2 separate regions of the Homo sapiens genome follow, and region 2 is linked to region 1. Evidence: promoter capture Hi-C in human tissues and cell types (Jung and others, 2019). All regions are on one chromosome and are shown on one strand. Each heading gives the region's core, a stretch centred on a gene start or on the middle of the fragment in contact. The rest is flanking DNA. Distances are from core to core; before and after follow the strand shown.

What was found. Contacts are between HindIII fragments. The study calls those that stand out against the background at their distance.
Region 2: a contact is called between a fragment that was not itself captured here and the fragment with the promoter of CNBD1 in region 1, in 3 of the 25 tissues and cell types used here (liver, pancreas and spleen).

The regions. Positions count from the first base shown.
Region 1 is chr8:86,863,230-86,869,830 of GRCh38, forward strand. It overlaps CNBD1 (cyclic nucleotide binding domain containing 1), which reads left to right and starts at 3,186. Exons shown (of 11, transcript NM_173538.3): 1 at 3,186-3,354. The coding sequence starts at 3,267. The HindIII fragment of the contact is 15,353 bases long and covers 1-6,601 here.
Region 2 is chr8:86,958,153-86,964,753 of GRCh38, forward strand. The region is part of intron 4 of CNBD1 (cyclic nucleotide binding domain containing 1); the gene reads left to right. Among named protein-coding and RNA genes, the nearest start is that of CNBD1, 95 kb to the left of the region's middle. The HindIII fragment of the contact is 4,541 bases long and covers 1,229-5,769 here.

The DNA of each region.
Region 1 (6,601 bases), core at 1,936-4,435:
TTATTATTATTATTGGTTTTTGCAATACAGAATGAATACTTAAGGTACATCCTGAAAAATGAACCTGTAATATACTACTGGTGACTGTGTAGCAGGAATAAATGGAACTCATATTAAATATACTTTTAAAAAAATATTTAAAGTATTAAAAATATTTATGCTCTGGTTTCTCTTCAGAATGACTTTATCTTTTTGTCTTTTACTAAAGTATTAAAAATATTTAATCCATATGAGTTTTTCAAAGTTTACTTCAGCAATAGTAATATTACTAATAAAAATGGAGTTATTACTATAGGTACTGTGCTAGGACCTTTTTTCATTATTTAATATTCATAATATTTGTATGAGGTATTATCATTACCCCTGCATAGATCAGGATATTGAGGCCAAGGTGGATTAAGTGACTTCTCCAAGATAATTTTGTAAGTAAGTGGTTGGGAAACAATTAGACTTTACTGTCCAGGCATTGGTAAACAATGTAATACAGCTATCTCTCAAAGACAAATTGTGTGATTATGTTATTATTCTTTGAATGAATTTCAAAAGAATTCAGAATACATTGAAAAGCCTAGCAAAAAACATTTAGGAGAGCTGAATTTGTGATTTGATGGATTTTCTCTGGACATATATCAGCAGGTACTAGCAGATGCTCACACGCAATTATGAATATTACAGAGACTTAGATAAAATTCAGTAAGCTATTTTAGTTGTTTATTTTGCTATTTACTCCTTAATGTTCTTGTTTACTTGCATTGTCACTTCTCATTTTTTCTTTAAAATTATTTTCAAGCAAGGTCCAGGTTGATATGAACTACGATATTATATGGCATTCAGTGTGTAAAGTTTATTACATATGAAATACAGAAAAGAGAAAGGTGAAAATATGGAAAAGCAGGAAGATAACTAGAAAATAAATAAAAATAAGAACTGCTAACTTGGAATCAGAGAGGAAATCGGTCATCACAATTTTAGGGCCTTAGGAAACTTCCTCTCTTACATTTGTTTGATTAGAACTGTTCGTCAGAGAAAAAAAGCATTTTATATAGTCCCTTCTGCTTAACATCCATGAAAAATTCACGTCTTCATTTCTTTGGGTTTTAAATGTGCGACTAGGAAGAGAATGGATCTAGAAAACCTGTGGAATGATGGCAGTAGGGATTACCAACAAGGGGACAGTTGGAATGGCAAGGAACCATTCTGAAGTGGGAGCTAGGCAGGTGGCTAGTGTGGAAGGAATGCAAGATGAAGAATAGTGATGTGGCCGGGTGTGGTGGTTCATGCCTGTAATCCTAGCACTTTGGGAGACCAAGGCAGGCAGATCACCAGAGGTCGGGAGTTCAAGATCAGCCTGGCTAACATGGTGAAACCGTGTCTCTACTAAATATACAAAATCAGCTGGGCGTGGTGGCACCTGCCTGTAATCCCAGCTACCCGGGAGGCTGAGGCAGGAGAATCACTTGAACCCGGGAGGTGGAGGTTGGAATGAGTCAGAATTGAGCCACTGCACTCCAGCCTGGGTGACAGAGTGAGACTTGGTCTCCAGAAAAAAAAAAAACAATAGTGATGAGACTCAACAACAAAATTGAGTCTATGGTGAGTTTGGAGTTTGTAAAACTGGAAATAGGAAAATACATTCAATTGAAAAGTTATAACCTGAGTAAATTTATTGTGCAGATATAATTTAATAGAAACTGTTGCAAAATAAATTTGTTACTTTTGTAACATAATTAATGTTTTCTATTCTAGTTATTAATGTTATCTAGATGAAGTTGCTCCAGAAATGGTTGGTTTACACTCTGCTAGTCCAGTTCAGGTATCAGACAGCCACAGTCCTTTTGTATATTACCTGATGAAATGGGGGAGTTCCCTGATTCCCCTCACAGAATGTGTGACAGGGCTGTGGTTTGCCTGCTTGGTTGGTCATCGCTGCTGCTCAAACCCTGTGGGGAGGGGGAGCACACAGACGGACAGGTGCAGGAGCCCAAGTGGGCATTGTGTTGCAGTGTGCCCTTGTAGCCCTACCCTCCATGGATGGCTTGATGTTAACAAGCTCAATGGACCCTCTGCCTTTTCACAAGGGTAGAGGGCCAGTGTGATAGCTTTCTGTATCCTGAATTCTTGCCCAGCATCCCAGAAGTACTGGGTCACACATGGGCTTGAAGGAAGAACTCAGGGTTTTATTGAGTGGTGGAGGTGGCTCTCAGCAGGATGGATGGGGAGCTGGAAGGGGGATGGAGTGGGAAAATGATCTTCCCCTGGAGTTTGGCCGTACAGTGGCTGAACTCCTCTCAGTGTTCAGATGTTCCTCCTTTTCTCACTTTCTCTGCCTGTCATTCTGCCATTCATCTATTTGTCTCATCTCTTCGTCTGCTTCTGGAGCCTGGGATTCAGGGTTTATATGGGTACAGGATAGGGTGTGTTGCAGGCCAAAAGGCAACTTTTTAGGTGCAAAAACAGGAATGCCTGTCCCAATCTAGGGCCGCAGGTCTCCAGGCTTGAGGGTGGGGCCTTTACTGGGGAACTGCCCTCTTCTACCCAGTGTTTCCCTGTCTCCTGTCCGTATCACTCTAACAGTTATGATACCAGGACCCTATTTCTAAAGGCCTTGGAAGATAATACACAGCATCAAAAGATACATTAGTTAGGATTGTAAACCCTAGCCATTGTAACTATCCTTAATTATTGTGAAGCAGCAGAAAATAACAAAAAAACATGTTCCACACTCTAGCAGAATATAGTTAAATGTAAGCTGGGGTGGGTTTATTGGTGTATGATAATTAGAAGGGATGGTTTACCCTATAAATGTGGCCATGAAGAACAGTATAAATATGCTATCTCTGTTACTGCTGGTACAGAAAGGGCCTGTGATACCCAGTGTAAACATTTGGTAGGCAGGAAAAGGGCTCTGGACTATGGAAGACCAAGGAAGTGAATACTTTCATTTCACCTAGACTCATGAGTGCTGTTGATTCTGCTGTATCAGCCTTGTGGGCTACAGTTTCCTTCTTCATTATTGCTACTCTCTATAGCTCATAAAGTCCTCCTTATGATTTCCACTGGACTAAAATGTAGCATAGTTCTTCCTGGTCTAGATGACACTCTTGGAAATGCACAAACAATGGATAAGAACTATGAACAAGAAGATTCCGTAGGATTCAACCTATCAGAGAGGACCTTGAAGTTCTGCTTTATGAGCCTGCAGGCAAAGAGTGATCATTTGCCTCTCAAGCAGCCTCTGGTCATCTATCTGCCTTTGAGCCATCAAGATGCCGATGTCTTCTCTTCCAGCAGCTATTTTGTCTCACATGACAGCTATTAACAATGTGCCTCCTCCTCCACTTCACAGTATACCAAGTGAGTGGGAAATACTTTGATGCTCTTATTCACCTACCATTGTTTTCAGCGGTTCTTACCCCAGCTATGAAAATTGGGGGTATTTCAGGGTTGATAGGGACATTGGGAATCTTATTGACAGTGCTGAAGAATGGAAAGAACATAGATGTGTAAATCCTGCTTGGTCTACTTGAAGTCATTTCAGTACTCTAGGTCTTAAGTATTTTTTCTCTGTAAAATGAGGATCTTTACGAACTCTTAGAGCTTCAGATACATTGAAATATTTCTAAAGATGAAAGAAAACAAAGATTTAGAGAGGCCACATGTTCCACCAGCTATCAGGTTCCTTTTTCTAGCAGATCTTCTACTCCCTACCAAGAGTTGGTCCTACTACGCTTAATGGGATAATTAATACTTAATATTCTCTAGGAGAATTCTCATTTCAATTTGACAAGGAAAAAAAGATAATTCCTACTATTCTGACTGTGAAATTTATTCCTATTTAACTTTTTTATTTTCTAGTCTTACTTATAAGAATTAAGTATAGAACTAGATATTTCAAAGTTTATATAATTGACAGTATTTTCTCATTTTATGTAATTAGTCTAAACCTATAACGTTTTCTTAAGATTGTAAACACTTCTCATGGCCATCGAATTTATAAGATCTATTATTTGAACACCATCATTCTGACTAGCAATATGTATGAGTTCCAGTGTTAGTTAAGATTTTTAAAAAATATCTGGATAACAAAGGTAATACTTGTGATCCTTTTCAACTTCAATAAAGCATTAACTCTTATTTTATTATTCATTGGGCAGATTTATAGTATTGATTTGAAGAAGCTAAGCCATCCATCCTTTTCCCTTCCTGTGAAAGTTAATTTCTCCAAATACATTTTAAAAAATTAATGCTCATAGTCTCCAGGTTAAAAGGTATAACAGGTGGCAGTTGATACTCCTTGAAGGGGTACACTGATGTCTTGAATAGTGTTAGACAAAATCCTTATGTTAAACAAAATTAATTCCATTTGTATTATAGTGAAAATAATCTTGCATCTGGTCAAAGTTTTCTATTTCTACTTGAGTGGAAATAAGAATTAAGTGCAATTTTGCTGAAGAAACACAGCTTCTACTATTCATGTTTTATTTGTGAAAAAGAAAATAAAAGTCACCATAAAATAATATTTTTAAAAAGCCCAGGAAACTCGGTAGCTGGGAGTTAAAAGATCAAATTAATTTAGAATCAATGAGATGAGATTTGTGCTACCCTCTGTAGTGCCTCCCAAGGACACTTAACTTCTGTGAAGTGATTAAAAGACGAAAAATCAGCAGCAATTTAGATCTCAGAACTGAATAGAGCATAATGGAAAGCGGTGGAGCTCCCAGTGTTCCTTTAGAGGTTCGCACTTGATGTTTCTATGTCTGCAACTTCTCTTTGAGGACGTGCCCTGCTTGCCTTAATAACTGTGTCTTTTTGCTAACTGTAGCAAGACAATAATTTTCCTTAGCAAGCACTGATTGTCTCACTGCTGAAACAATGATCTCATGGAAGCCAATGTGTAATGAATGCTTTCAATTTATGAAATGACTGAACCTGAATTACAAAGGATATATAAATGAGTTTTAAATGCAGTGGGCATAAATAGGAATGCACATTTACATACCTAAAAAGAAAATCCAGCCATTGTATACATCCTTGATACTTTGTATTTGTTGAGTTAGGTTGGATTTAGTGACTCATATTCACCTTCTCTGTAAGTATTTATTTATTTATTTATTCATTTTTATTTATTTTTGAGATGAAGTCTTGCTCTGTTGCCCAGGCTGGAGTGCAGTGGCACGATCTCAGCTCACCACAACCTCCGCCTCCTGGGTTCAAGCGATTATCCTGCCTCAGCCTCTTGAGTAGCTGGGACTACAGGTGTGCCTGGCTAATTTTTGTATTTTTAGTAGAGATGGGGTTTCACTGTGTTGGCCAGGCTGGTCTCTATCTCCTCACCTCGTGATCTGCCCCCCTCAGCCTCCCAAAGTGCTAGGATTTACAGGCGTGAGCTACCACGCCCCGGCTGTCTGTATTTATATGTGAATATTGTTAATTGAGTGCTTTCTGTAGTTAGTATGTAAACATTTAGCACGTTATGTTATTTCATGTATTTCTTACAAGAACTCTATGTCTTCGGTGGACAGAATTAACGGTCCCAGTGATATCCATGCCTTAATTCACAAAACTTATGAATAGGTTATACTACATGTTAGGGGGAATTGAGGCTGCACATGCAATTAAAGCAGCTAATTGGCTCCACTTGAGATGGGAGAATATTCCGGTTTGTCTGGGTACCAGCCACAATTGTGAGAGCCCTTATAAGCAAAAGAGGAAGGCGAGAGAGTCAGAATGATATGTGAGAAAGACTCGACTGGCCCTTGCTGGCTTTGAAGATGGAGGGGGGACAAAAGCCAAGGAATTCAGGCAGCCTCTAGAAGCAGGGAAAGGCAAAGAAATGGATTCTCCCCTAGCGTCTCCAGAAGAATTGCAGTCCTGCTGATGTGATTTTAGCCCAGTGAAATCAGGTTCAGAGTTCTCATTTCCAGAACTGTTAGATAATACGTTTTTATTTTTTTAAGCCACTAAGGCAGTGGCAATCTTTTACAGCAGCAATATAAAATTAATACGTGTTCCAGTTTACACTTAAGGATAATAAGGCTTAGGTTTCATACTAAGGTTCACACAGATGTTAAGTAGCAGAGGCTCCTCGTAGCGTCATCTGTGTAAACAAACTCTACTCACAACAACAACAAAGCTGGCAGCATTCCGGGTTGCCCCTTACCTCCTGCCCTGAATTTCTTGCCCATTTGGCTACTTAAATGCTATTAATATATGGGAGGCAACATGTCACACATCTTCAAACCCTCCTCCACTGCTATCTTGTTGACTCTGAAATTCAGACTCAGACACTTCAAGTAGTTAAGCTTCTTGAGCTAGTTTGCTGCTTGTGGTTCTTTCTTCTTTGAAACTTTCAAGTCTTTTCCTTCTCTGGTCTCTTTGACTTCTGTCTCAGGATTCTTCACAGTTTGCTAACCTTAAGGGAGGAATGAATGTTCTCAAAAGCAGAAGAGCTGTTCCACTTTTCATTCTGGATGAGAATTATTTTAAAAACATCATAGCTAACAAACTGTACAGTTTTACCACCTAAGTGAAATGGCATCTGGTTTAAGTACACACATGACCCATTATTTTTATAAGTTGATTTCCTGAAGAGATAGAAAAA
Region 2 (6,601 bases), core at 2,249-4,748, 95 kb after region 1:
TAATCCTGAGTTCTAGTTTGATTGCATTGTGGTCTGAGAGACAGTTTGTTATAATTTCTGTTCTTTTACATTTGCTGAGGAGTGCTTTACTTCCTACTATGTGGTCAATTTTGGAATAGGTCAGATGTGCTGCTGAGAAAAGAGTGTATATTCTGTTGATTTGGCATGGAGAGTTCTGTAGGTGTCTATTAGGTCCTCATTGCAGAGCTGAGTTCAATTCCTGGATATCCACATTAACTTCCTGTCTTGTTGTCTGTTTAATGTTGACAGTTGGGTGTTAAAGTCTCCCATTATTATTGTGTGGGAGTCTAAGTCTCTTTGTTGGTCTCTAGGGACTTGCTTTATGAATCTGGGTGCTCCTGTATTGGGTGCATATATATTTAGGGTAGTTAGCTCTTCTTGTTGAATTGATCTCTTTACCATTAGGTAACGGCCTTCTTTGTCTCTTTTGGTCTTTATTGGTTTAAAGTCTGTTTTATCAGAGACTAGGATTGCAACCCCTGCTTTTTTTTGTTTTCCATTTCCTTGGTAAATCTTCCCCCATCCCTTTATTTTCAGCCTATGTGTGTCTCTGCACATGAGATGGGTCTCCTGAATACAGCACACTGATAGGTCTTGACTCTTTATCCAATTTGTCAGTATGTGTCTTTTATTTGGAGCATTTAGCCCATTTACATTTAAGATTAATATTGTTATGTGTGAATTTGATCCTGTCATTATGATATTAGCTGGTTACTTTACTCATTAGTTGGTTATTTTACTCATTAGTTGATGCAGTTTGTTCCTAGTGTCAATGGTCTTTACAATTTGGCATGTTTTTGCAGTGGCTGGTACCGGTTGTTCTTTTCCATGTTTAGTTCTTCCTCCAGGAGTTCTTGTAAAGCAGGCCTGGTGGTGACAGAATCTCTCTGCATTTGTTTGTCTCTAAAGGATTTTATTTCTCCTTCACTTATGAAGCTTATTTTGACTGGATATGAAATTCTGGGTTGAAAATTCTTTTCTTTAAGAATGTTGAATATTGGCCTCCACTCTCTTATGGCTTGTACAGTTTCTGCCAAGAGATCCACTGTTAGTCTGATGGGCTTCCCTTTGTGGGTAACCCAACCTTTCTCTCTGGCTGCCCTTAACATTTTTTCCTTCATTTCAATTTTGGTGAATCTGACAATTATATGTCTTGGAGTTGTTCTTCTTAGTGAATATCTTCATGGCGTTCTCTGTATTTCCTGAATTTGATTGTTGGCCTGCCTTGCTAGGTTGAGGAAGTTCTCCTCAATAATATCCTGAAGAGTGTTTTCCAGCTTGGTTCCATTCTCCCCGTCACTTTCAGGTACACCAATGAGATGTAGATTTGGTCTTTTCACATAGTCCCATATTTCTTGGAGGCTTTCTTCATTTCTTTTTATTCTCTTTTCTCTAAAGTTCCCTTCTCACTTCATTTCATTGATTTGATCTTCAGTCACTGATACCCTTTCTTCCACTTGATTGAATCGGCTACTAAAGCTTGTGCATGCATCACATAGTTCTTGTGCCATGGTTTTCAGCTCCATCAGGTCATTTAAGGTCTTCTCTATGCTGTTTATTCTAGTTAGCCATTCATCTAATCTTTTTTCAAGGTTTTTAGCTTCCTTGCGATGGGCTCAAACATCCTCCTTTAGCTCAGAGAAGTTTGTTATTACTGATCATCTGAAGCCTTCTTCTCTCCACTCGTCAAAGTCATTCTCCATCTAGCTGTGTTCCGTTGTTGGCGAGGAGCTTTGTTCCTTTGGAGAGAAGAGGGGCTCTGATTTTCAGAATTTTCAGCTTTTCTTCTCTGGTTTCTCCCCATCGTTGTTGTTTTATCTACCTTTGGTCTTTGATGATGGTGACCTACCGATGTGGCCAAATGGGAACAGCTCCAGTCTACAGCTCCCAGTGTAAGCAATGCACAAGATGGGTGATTTGTGCATTTCCAACTGAGGTACCAGGTTCATCTCACTGGAGCTTGTCGGATAGTGGGTGCAGCCCACAGAGTGTGAGCCAAAGCAGGGTGGGGCATCGCCTCACCCAGGAAGCACAAGGGGTCAGGGAATTCCCTTTACTAGCCAAGGGAAGCCATGACAGATAGTACCTGGAAAATCAGGACACTCCCACTCTAATACTGCACTTTTCCAAGAGTCTTAGCAAACGGCACACCAGGAGATTATATCCCGCTCCTGGCTCAGAGGGTCCCACACCCACAGAGCCTCACTCACTGCTAGCACAGCAGTCTGAGATCGAACTGCAAGGTGGCAGTGAGGCTGGGGGAGGGGCGTCCACTGTCACTGAGGCTTGAGTAGGTAAACAAAGTGGCCGGGAAGCTTGAACTGGGTGGAGCCCACCTCAGCTCAAGGAAGCCTGCCTACCTCTGTAGACTCCACCTCTCGGGGCAGTGCATAGCTGAACAAAAGACAGCAGAAACTTCTGCAGACTTAAACGTCCCTGTCTGACAGCTTTGAACAGAGTAGTGGTTCTCCCAGCACGGAGCTGGAGATCTGAGAATGGACAGACTGCCTCCTCAAGTGGGTCCCTGATCCCTGAGTAGCCTAACTGGGAGACATCTCCCAGTGGGGGCCAAGTGACACCTCATACAGCTGGATGCCCCTCTGAGACGAAGCTTCCAGAGGAAGGATCAGGCAGCAACATCTTCCATTCTGCAATATTTGCTGTTCTGCAGTCTCCGCTGGTGATACCCAGGCAAACAGGTTGTGGAGTGGACCTCCAGCAAACTCCAACAGACCTGCAGCTCAGGGTCCTGACTGTTAGAAGGAAAACTAACAAACAGAACAATTTTCAAAAGCCAAAGCAGTTTATGACCTTAAAGCCTTTCACCAACCTAGTTTCTGACTTGCATAATTTAGACCATGTCTACATTTTGAAGACATTTCTACTTTTATTTTACCAATAATTTTAAAGCTAGCCTGTTTATATATAGCAATATATGTTGTTATAACATATGACAGTAAGTGTACAAATAAACACATCTAGACATGTATACATACACAAATGAAGATCCAATAGCTTGGAACCCTAGCCATAAGATAGCACTACAAGCTTACCAGTTTTACTTTGTTTGCCCCAATAGACAATCCAATGAAGGCTGTGAACCAAAATTTCAGGTAAATTGGTTTCTATGACAGTTTGATTTTTAAAAGCCAAACTTCCCCAGACTCCAAAGAACACTGGGGCCAAACAGCACCAAAGGAGAACATCACAAGTTAAAACAGGCCCCCTGCTTAGAACAGCAGCACAAAACCCTGGATACATGCAATGCAATCTTACTTTCCTATTCAACAGTAAACTCCAGATTCCATACAATATTGGGGCCAAACAGTATTGTAACTGTGAGAGAAAATTCTAAGGAGGGTTTAGTACTAGACCTCAGAACCTCTGCCAAGGGCATCCCGTTTGGAGAGGTGGAGGTCCAGAGGATCCCCTGGGATGTCCCCCTGTGGGATCCAACCTTAGAGTGTCAGATGTCTCTGACCTTAGGTAGGCACTAGTGCTGCTTTGTCTTCTCCCTCCAGAGGCAATGGCCTACCACGATCTTTGTAAGGCCATGCTTTCTCAGGCTTCCTGTTCCACCAGAGTGACAGCCATGAAGTAAAAGGCATTGCAGCTTTATTTTTCTTTCAAAATAGTTGATCTAAGCACTTGATTTTCTTTAAGCCAATCAGAGCTCTTTTATATAAACATCATACACATAACACATGTGTAACTACACAGACTGAAGGAGATTCAGTACTTGTAAGATTTTTCATGTGCCAATCTCCTATTTGCATTGCTAACCCTAGGGGTGGAGCACTTCAAGAACCAGGTCTAGGAAAACATGCAGGCAGGTTCTATGGCCTAATAAGTAGGAATAGCTGGAAGACAAGAACAGATTTTGAGAGGGATACATCCACTTGTAATCCCTGGCACTCCATGAGGAAAACAGAGGTTTTTTTCAAAAATGAATCAATGATGCCTCCTTTGTTTTCCCAAGAAGTCCCAGGACTTCAGAGGTTATCTTGGGGCCCTTCATGTGTGCAATAAGAATGGTAAGACAAAAATGGAGACTAATTCAGTCGACTGATAAAACCTTTTTCCAGAAAAAGAAGATCCATGAGAAAAGACATACAGGCCTTTTAAATATACCTATAGCTTTGATAACCATGGACATCTACTTTTAAATAAGCTAACTTTTAACTATAGCACCCCTTTTTAAAGTCATTTTAAATCTCTTATTTCCTGACTTTAGCCATGCCAAATGGCCATTTGAATTCTTGGAGGGGCAGAGAATACAGTGATTTTTATCCTTCCTGCTACCAGTTTGCACAGAGAAAGAGAAGTCAGAGGCCGGGCACAGTGGCTTACACCTGTAATCCCAGCACTTTGGGAGGCTGAGGCGGGCACATCACGAGGTCAGGAGATCAAGACCATCCTGGCTAACACGGTGAAACACCGTCTCTACTAAAAATACAAAAAACTTAGCTGGGTGTGATGGCAGGTGCCTGTAGTCCCAGCTATTCGAGAGGCTGAGGCAGGAGAATGGCATGAACCTGGGAGGAAGAGCTTGCAGTGAGCTGAGATGGTGCCACGACACTCCAGCCTGGGCAACAGAGCAAGACTCCATCTCAAAAAAAACACAAAAAACAAAAAACAAAACAGAAGCTAGAAATCTGACTGGCAAGAACCTTTACCCTTTTGCTGGCATGTCAGGCTTCTGGGTTCCCTTCCCCTGAGACATGGAGTGCTTTGACCCTGGAGTCCTGTGAAGGGGAAAAAGCTATTTTCTTTCTCCAGCCTGAGGGTCAAAGGAGTCCAGTGATTTAGGATACACTTGAGGAGTGCAGGCTGAAAATGATTCACTGGTTACCCATCTGGAAAGAGGAGTAAAAGGCTTCCCTTTGTTCCTCTCTCTTCCTAGCGAATACCCGGGGTATGTGACAGGGAGAAAAGGCATCCCTCTTAATTATTTCGACCTTATATCCCTGAGTTCCGGTGACCTGTGCAGGTGCTGACCATGGGTGCAAGTGCAACCTTCACCCATGAAGTTGGAGGCATAGCTGACAGGCATGCACCTGAGCAGAGCCTAAGCCTCCCACTCTCCGTCACATTTGAGTTCCCTAGACCCTATCTATGCCATGTATGTAAGCATGATATTCCCATCCATGAAGCAGGAGGCCTAATTGTCAGGAATTAGTCATGCTCACCTGCACTGTGCCCTTCGACTCCCGCTGTCATCTGCCTCAGGTCTATTGTTCCATTCCAGGGCTTCAAACTGAAGCTTCGGAGAAAAAGGTGCCTCAGGGGGGTGTATGAACCCATTAAATTGGTCCCAGATAGCCCTTGCCAAATTGCAGCTAGCAACTGGCAGGGGCTGCTCTACCATTGCCTCCCTATCACAAGTAGGTGAAGCTGTGGGGCCAAGTCCTCCTCAAACAAGGGAGAGAGAAAGGGAGTCCCAGTAACTGGGGACCTGGCCTACGAAGGTGACAACTAAGAGATTGGGTTTTTCCTGAGATGCCCTTCACGGTCATGCTAAGAGAGGAGGCGGACCTAGGTTGGAGAAGAGAACTGAAAGGCCTGCTCAAGTCCAGGAGGAGGTCCAACCTCCTTTCCTTGATCCCTAGAATCACCCTAGCTCCTGGATGGCAATGACAGTCTGAACCACCAGAGTCAACGAAAGGAACCCTGGGACCAGTCAGTCCTGCTGCACCATTTGGGAGATGGCAATCTGGACCTTGCCACCCATGTCTCAGGGACAGTCTGCCCTCCAATGATCTACATTTGCAGCAGTTGACAGGTGCATTGTGAGGACTCTGAGGTTTGTGAGCCTGCAAGTTGGTTATTAGAGCCTCTGTCTTTTTCTTGTGTCTCCTTCCCTCTCTTGGGCCTCCCAATCCTATTTTAAAAGGCCAAGGTGGCCACTTCCAGAGGTCCTCTATAGTACTCTCTGGTCGTATGGCCTGTTTCTGTAGCTTCCTCCTGATATCAGGGGCTGAAGTCCCCTCTTAGATTTCTGAGGAAGGCAGTGGGACTCTCATCCAATCCCTGGTCTACCATGGATAGCCCAGTGCAATCAAGAGGTCTAGTCCCAGTCCCTTGCAAGCCATCCAATATGCACACCTGTAAGGGCTTCCTTTTCCATTCTCCCGTTTCATCATTGGGGTCCCATTTAGTGTTCTCCAATGGTACTGCTATTCTTCCAACTAGATAAGGCTCATCCCCTTCCCTGGTCCTATATAAGATGTAAAGCTTATCCTAAAAATTCTCTGCCACTTGCAGGGTGGCCTGCTTTTCAGCAGTGGTCAGGGTTTGATGCAAAAGTAACATGACATCCTTCCATGAGAGTTCAAATAGTTAGGTTAAGTTCTGGAAGGCCAATATATGCCTGTCAGGGCCATCTGAAAACCTGCTTGGATCCCCCTTAATTTGCTGTAAGCCCTGAAGAGAAAAGGGGACCCGAATCTAAATGGGACCGTGTTTACCACACATCTGTTGTAGGAGCAGGAGTGAGACTGGGACCTGCCTAAAATGACTTCTAAGATGAGGCAAGCTTGGAAGAGAACCTGGATAGGGAGGAGTGAAGGGAGCTGATTCC